2 separate regions of the Homo sapiens genome follow, and region 2 is linked to region 1. Evidence: promoter capture Hi-C in human tissues and cell types (Jung and others, 2019). All regions are on one chromosome and are shown on one strand. Each heading gives the region's core, a stretch centred on a gene start or on the middle of the fragment in contact. The rest is flanking DNA. Distances are from core to core; before and after follow the strand shown.

What was found. The method cuts DNA at HindIII sites, captures the fragments that hold promoters and counts their contacts. A contact is called where the count stands out against the background at its distance.
Region 2: a contact is called between a fragment that was not itself captured here and the fragment with the promoter of PPFIA2 in region 1, in 2 of the 25 tissues and cell types used here (H1 embryonic stem cells and aorta).

Annotation. Positions count from the first base shown.
Region 1 is chr12:81,757,370-81,760,919 of GRCh38, forward strand. It overlaps PPFIA2 (PPFI scaffold protein A2), which reads right to left and starts at 1,981. Exons shown (of 33, transcript NM_003625.5): 1 at 1,911-1,981; 2 at 1,031-1,138. RefSeq lists an enhancer at 841-1,779. The HindIII fragment of the contact is 8,978 bases long and covers 974-3,550 here.
Region 2 is chr12:81,859,003-81,862,653 of GRCh38, forward strand. No RefSeq gene overlaps it. Among named protein-coding and RNA genes, the nearest start is that of LINC02426, 93 kb to the right of the region's middle. The HindIII fragment of the contact is 3,559 bases long and covers 1-3,063 here.

The sequences.
Region 1 (3,550 bases), core at 731-3,230:
CCTTGATATTTGCTTTTTCATCATTCCCCCCTCAAAGTCAATTTGATATATAAATTATGTTATCTTCATCTAGATATTGATGCTTTCCTCATTAAATTACTGAAGGTTTTGAAACCTAGTCAGAGACATTGTTAATTTTGTTGAGAAAGAAAAAAAGTAATAATAAATCTGATTGGCTTAATTATCCCAGTGCTTAAATTTAGCCGGAAGAATTTTATATCAGGAAAATAACTCCTTTATTCTTAGCACATAGCCTTGACTGTCTTTTAAATTTCTCAGATTTCAAAATAAAAGTTTGAATGCCCACTGGAGTCCTCACTCAAGGGCTTTCAAGATCCAATGTGTTCCTTAACAATATATGCCATCCAAGCAGTACCTCTTCAGATATGAGAGTGCTACAAAAAGCTTTTTTTCTTTTTTCTGTCAACAAATGACTTTATTTAATCATATCACTAGGAATTCGGCCCTACTAGAGGTAAGAATGTAATTATTATCCATAGTGAGTTTCTTCTGAAAACATTTAGTCTTAAGAACCATCCCAGCTCCACCTCAGTTAACCTACAAGGAGTAATTCAGTGAGAGAAATCCTAGCCATTGTCTGATTACATTACATGAATATTCTCCCTCCTATTTAACTCTTTGAAAGCCTCTGTCCTCGGGAAATATGATTATCACCTTTAATGGACACATTTTACACTTTCTTTACCCTAGTGCATTTACGGACAGCCAGAGCCAGCTCAACCCACACTACTGGACAGTTATCTCTCAGCCACACCCCCCACCACCTTGAAGAAGTTGACTTCATCATTTCCACACTAAAATTGTTCATCCTGCCCAACAGGACACAGCCAAGTAGGCAGGAGGTAGAGAGATAGGAGATGGAGAGGATGAGGTGAAAGCAAAAGGCACCTAACGGTAATCAACAAGGAGGAATTTGCATCTCATCTTCCCTGGGGGCGGGGTGGGGCCGGGGAGGTGGTCAAAAAATACAGCGAAAGGAGACAGTAAAACTCAAAGACAGCTTCTGTACCTAATGTCTGTGATTTCGGGTCCTTGCTTCTTCAATTGATCAATGACAACCGCAGTCTCCGGCTTGAGGAGAAGGGAGGCTCACACCCAGCACTCCTGGACCATTTCCCTAGCAACGGGAGGAGAAAGGCAGCTCAGACACACGCGTGCCCCGGCGCCCTCCCGGAACGTGCCCCGGCCCGGTGGCGTGGCAGGAGCTCGGCATCTTCCCGTGGCTCCGTCAGCAGCCAAAAGGAGAAGCGTCCATCGGAAAAATGGCATATTACAAATTTTGCTTTGGGAAGCAAAGCTCGGTTCAGACCATTGTCAAAGGAGGAGAGGGGGAGGCGGCTCTTAAAGCAGCCGCGGCCCCTTTGCCAGAACAGCCGCAGCTCCCCGCGTGCAGCTGGAGCCCCGGGGCGGAGACCGGAGACCGGGGACTGGGTTTGACTTTCAGAAACTTAACCACGCGGCGCCGCTCCCCCTCCGCGCCCGGGCCACCCGGGGTGTGTGGGGCGTCCCTCCAAAAGAAAGCTTGGAGAAAAGGCGTGAGAAGTATCTGGGAGAGAAGTTCTCCACCCAGTCTCCCCTCCTGGAGCCCCTCTGGAGTTTAAGGCTAACCCTGGGAGTTAGAAACCTAAAGGAAAACGAGTCCCTAGGGATGCAAAAAGCAGGACAGGTCTCCTCCTGGCCCCCAGCCTGTTTCCGCGCGCTCCCGTGTCTCGTTTCACTTAAAGGAGGCGCTTTTTCTCTGGAAAGGCAAACATCACCCCACGCCGTCCCCCGGCCCCCCTTCCCTCCCCCCCGCCGCCCCCCCGCCGCCACAGCACACACACCCATTTTTCTCCTCCCGGCCTTTCTGCAAGCCTCTTTGCTTGCTTCAATTGGCCGGAAGAACCAACCTGCTGGCAGCCGGTGAGGACGCTACAGCATCTTCTCTCCTCACTTGCCTCGTGCGGTGGCTGCTACTCCTCCTCCTCCGTCTCCTCCCCTCCTCCTCCTTGGCAGCCACCACCTCCTCTTCCTCTGGAACAAGGGCTTCCCCTGGAAGCTGCTGCAGTGGTTTCCACCGGCCCTTAAATAAATTCTGAAGTAATCACGTCTTTGCTCTCCTCCTCACGCACACGCGCCCGCGGATACACTCGTCTCCCCCAGAGCCGCTCCCGGGCTGCCGAGGCTCGCTCTGCTCCCAGTGCCCCCTGCGAAGGCGAGGGCCAGGGATGGGCAAAGTGGGAAGGGGGCACACGCTTCCCCGCCTGGGCTTCTTTCACACAATGGGCTCTACAGCCTTCGCTTGTGTCAGCCTGCGCTGGTGGGGATGGGAACGGACTTGGGCACCTTTTGGCTCCCCGGTCTTCTGTGCTTGTCATTTCTTTAAGCAGCTTTCTTCCCACTGGGCCAGGGCATGGTAGTCATGGTTGTAGGGACCTGAGCCAATCTAGGGTGTGGCGGCATCTGTCATTTCTCATTACCTCTTCAGTTCTTCTTCATTCATATTGTTTTGGTAATGGGAATTGTATGTTAAGTATTCCCTGCCCGAGTAAATTTTAGCTTTGAGCAGAGTCTGGTCTCTCCATCGCGCTCCAGTCCCCCTTATATCTCCACCTCCCTTTACCTACCCTCTTTTCTTTCCGTTGCTGCTGTCCATTCATACAGACTGAGGAAGCAGGAGACAAAATCAGTACCTACTCTGAGCAGAAAGGGAACGTTTCTGTGAGGGAGAGTCACGAATCCTGCTGGGTTTGGTGAAAATGAAGAGGACATGCATGAAGGAATTGGAGGATTAAACACTGAATATATTTTGGGGGTTACTGAAAATATTCTGAGTGTGCTACACGAAAGCCAAAAGACGTGTTTTACTTTTGTGTAACGCCAAGAGTCCAAAGTTAACAAAGAACTAGTATGTAAATAACTGTTCACTTAAAATTAACTACAATATCCAAGAAACAATCTTTGTTTCTGAGGGAAGTATTTAATTCAGTTAGCGACTTTACAATGGAAAGTGGGGTAAAGCTCATGTATTTACCCAACTTCTATTCTAGACTGTTATTTAAATTTTACAACACAACACAATCCTATAAGAAGTATAAAAATAATACGAAAATTCATTAGATGTCAACTGGAGCACTATTTCTCAGACATAATGTGCATACAGATCATCCATGGATCTTGTTAAGTTGTAGATACTGATTCACCAGGAATGGGGTGAAACCTGAAATTCTACCCTTCTAATGACTCCCAGATGGTACTACACTTGAGGAGGAAGGGTCTAGACCACCCAATCGACCCACAATTTGATGTGGCTTAAATACCCCTAACTACAGGAAACTCTTCACCTCACAGGATAGCCTAGTCTATTTTCAGACAAACTTCATATTGTAATAGCTTCAACATACTAATCATATATCAGTACTCATAACTTTCACTCTCTAGAATTCTACACAAAACATAAAAATTCCTTATACATGAGAGATATTCTTATTTTTACATATAGCTATTATGTCTATTTTTACAAGAATTCCTTCCTTATTAAACCTTGGTT
Region 2 (3,651 bases), core at 34-2,533, 100 kb after region 1:
GGTAGGACCAATGCCTTTGGCAAGAAAGGAGTAGACAGGTAACCAATTTTTAAGCCTCTGCTTTTCCTCTTTCTAACTTTATGACCTTGAGTTTAGGATCCCCTTTGATAAAAGAGAGGAAGAAAAATTGCATAAAAAGAGATAATTGAGAGCTTCTTGAGACTTTTCCTCAGAAACAAGGACACGATCGCAAATCTGATGAAGGTAAAAATACCAAAGGAATGTCAGATAGTACTTTTGAGATAGTAGGACAAAGAAAGGATGGAAATGGCTGCTATGTCAAAGTAATCTAATAATAGAGGTTCATGAATGCTTGTGTGAGGAGTCTAAAGTATTTTTGAAGGGAGATTAATATTGATAAGCTTTCTTCCATATATCTTGCCTCATCTGGATTAAATATAAGTTGACAGCAGTCCATAAACTCCTGTAAGCAAGCTAGTTGTTTCTTCATTTTTTATTGTATTAAACCACTGGACCCGATTAAGCTCAGTTCTGAAATTGCAGAATCTTTTGATGTAGTGAGCTGCCACAACGCTCAGGGGTATTACTATTAGGATAAGCATGAAAATTTGAAAATGGGATTATTCTGTTTAAAAACTTTTAGTGGCCCTATTATTGCAGACAGAATAAAAGCATACTCCTTTAAGAAATGGAAATCCTTTGCAATCATTAGCTTATCTCGCCTTTAAGCTACTTCCTTAATACTCTTGGCCATGGTCCATCAGGAAACAGTACACTCACACTGGATAATTGTGGAGAGTTTAGTAGAAGTGTCAAATACATGTTAGGTATTATAATAAAAATAATTAAGAACTCCTTGCCGGAAACAGCATGATAAAAACATCAATAAAAATTGTAGTTGGCTTATGAGGTTTCTTATGTTAAACACACACACACACACACACACACACACACACAGCTAAATTGAGATGTAAATCCAATTCAGGGTAAGGTGTAAATATTCAGTTTACATGCAAGGGATCAGGTCTGATAAAGCACGATGCAATTTAAAGATTAATAAAATTAACAAAATTATCCAGATCTATAAATTATACTCAAAACACAAGTGGACATAGCCATTCTCCTGTCCTTGGTAACCTTTTTTCTACCAAATTTTACTAGATAACTGGTCCTATAGAAATGGATATGACTTAGTACTGGTAGGAATAAATTTATTTTGTTTTTAATGAAAAAAAGTAGGGAGAAAGGGACTATTTATTTTGCCACCAAAGTTTGGCATTTTAAATCTGAGCTCTATAATTTAGTATCTGCTGGTAATGAAAGCTCCTGAGGTGGAGAATACGTGACTAGAAAGGAAGCAAAGCATTTATGGCAACCAACATGCTTTCACTTATATTACTGCACTAAATAGAACTTTGAAGTCAGCAAGGCAGAGCATGTTATAATCCTTACTTTACAGCTGAAAAATCACAGATTTAGGGCATTTGCAGTTGGTTCAGTGTCCCATAGTTTATTAATAGTACAGTTAGAATAAGAATCTCTAAGACTGCTAAAATCAGACTCTAGGAGTCTTTCATGCAATTCAGTTTAATCCAATCAAGCAGCCATGAGTATCAGGTACTGATGTTCATTTAAAGTTAGGTGAAAAGAAACTTTATGCTTTGGGAATATATAATCTGGTTTGAGAAAAGAAATTTACAAATTTAATGATACAACTTACAAACTCATTCTGAGGCTTAAAAATCTTTTAAAGGACACAGCACTGTAAATAGAAACACAGGTAAACCACTGCCATGAATTCATGCTGAGAGAGATTACCTGCAGTAAACAATGCATGGTAAACCTTCACTTAAAAAGTTTTCTGATTTCTTACCAAGCCTTTTCCCAAATAATTTATGGATTAAAGTGCTCTGCATTTTGTAAGCATTTCCCCTTATATGCTAAGTCATATAAATGCAGAGAAAAAAATGGTTATTATACGAATCTAGAGAAGATGTATATAATTACTTATATTACATGGTGTCAGTGCTTAATTACAAATTACAGGTGTTCCTCAATTATGATGAGGTGACAGTCCAATAAACCCATCCTACATTGAAAATATACTATATTGAAAGTGCATTTTTGCCTTAAAATATTTTCAATTTAGGGTGGGTTTATCTGGACATACCTCATCTTAAATCAAGGAGCCTATTGAATGCCTATCGCTTTGTACCATGGTGAAGTGGAAAATTGTAAGTCAAACCATCGTAAGTCTGACACCATCTGTACATGGTATTTAGAAATATCTCTATATTGTGGTGAAATTACCTTTGAAATTTTAAGCTTTGGATATTACTATTATGTTCTTCAAGGCACTTATGGAGTAAACGTAGAGTATTTTGCCTTCAATATATGTGCACTCAGGATGTATAGATATTTTTAAAACTAAGGTATTCAATTAAGGAAATCATAGGCATTTTGTTCCCTCCTCCTTACCCCCAGTACCCTAAATAACTTAAATATAATATTAGGCCAAAAGCTGATTATGCAATATACTATAATATTCCTTAGGAAAGATATGAGTACATATTTTATCTTTTTCTAGTGGTTATTAAAAATGAATACATACTCATTCAGATCAATGTAGAAGTGGAGATGAAAATTTTGTATTTTTCCTGAAGCCTCCTTTCTGGCTCTACTTCCATCAGTTACGAGTTAATGCTGCAAGGGACATAGATGTATGAAGTAAATTATATACTCAATTTTATTGAGCTTACTACTGTATGAAAAAATAAAAAAATAAAAGAAATATAAGTTTAATAATAACAATTATTGATTGCTTACCATCAGCAATATACAGTGTTTGCTAAGGTTGTCACTTACATTATCTCCTTTATTTAATTAACTACTTACAGTTAACTATCTCCATTTTTCAGTTGAGAAAAGTGAAGGTTACAAAAATTAAGTAATATACCCAATATATATGCAGCTGGTGTGGGATTAAAACTCAAATTTTTCTAACTCTAGCATCTGACTTTTATACTTTATACTTTATCACCTCACAATGTCTGAATAAGTACCTTTAACATTGCAGAAAATAATTTTTTTGAGACAGAGTCTCGCTCTGTCACCCAAGCTGGAATGCAATGGTGAGATCTAGGCTCACTGCAACCTCTGCCTCCCTGGCTCAGGTGATCCTCCCACCTCAGCCTCCCAACTAGCTGGGACTACAGGCGCGTGCCATCATGCCTGGCTAATTTTTATATTTTTTTGTTTGTTTGTAGACACAAGGTTTCACCCTGTTGCCTAGACTGGTTTCAAACTCCTAGGCTGAAGCGATCCACCAAAGTGCTGGGATTACAGGTGTGAGCCACTGTGCCACACCCAGAAAATAATTTTTAAGAAAAGAGTTTTCTTCCCTTTAGAATACTGAAACTAACATGGACTAATTGTCCATACATACAAATTTTAAATTTTTTCACCTGTTTCTTGGGTCACCTTTGTCTAACAGAGATTATTTTATTTCATTTCAATACTATTAAAATATTAATACAATGTGAAGCCCTAGTGTAAAAATAACATTTTCATTCTCATAGCAATTCTTTCCAATGCCTGGCTGGATTTGTTGTTTGTCTTTTGATCATATTTAAAACTTTATCTTCCCTAAGAAAGCACATGCTTTATAGCAAGTATTGCCAAAATTAATGT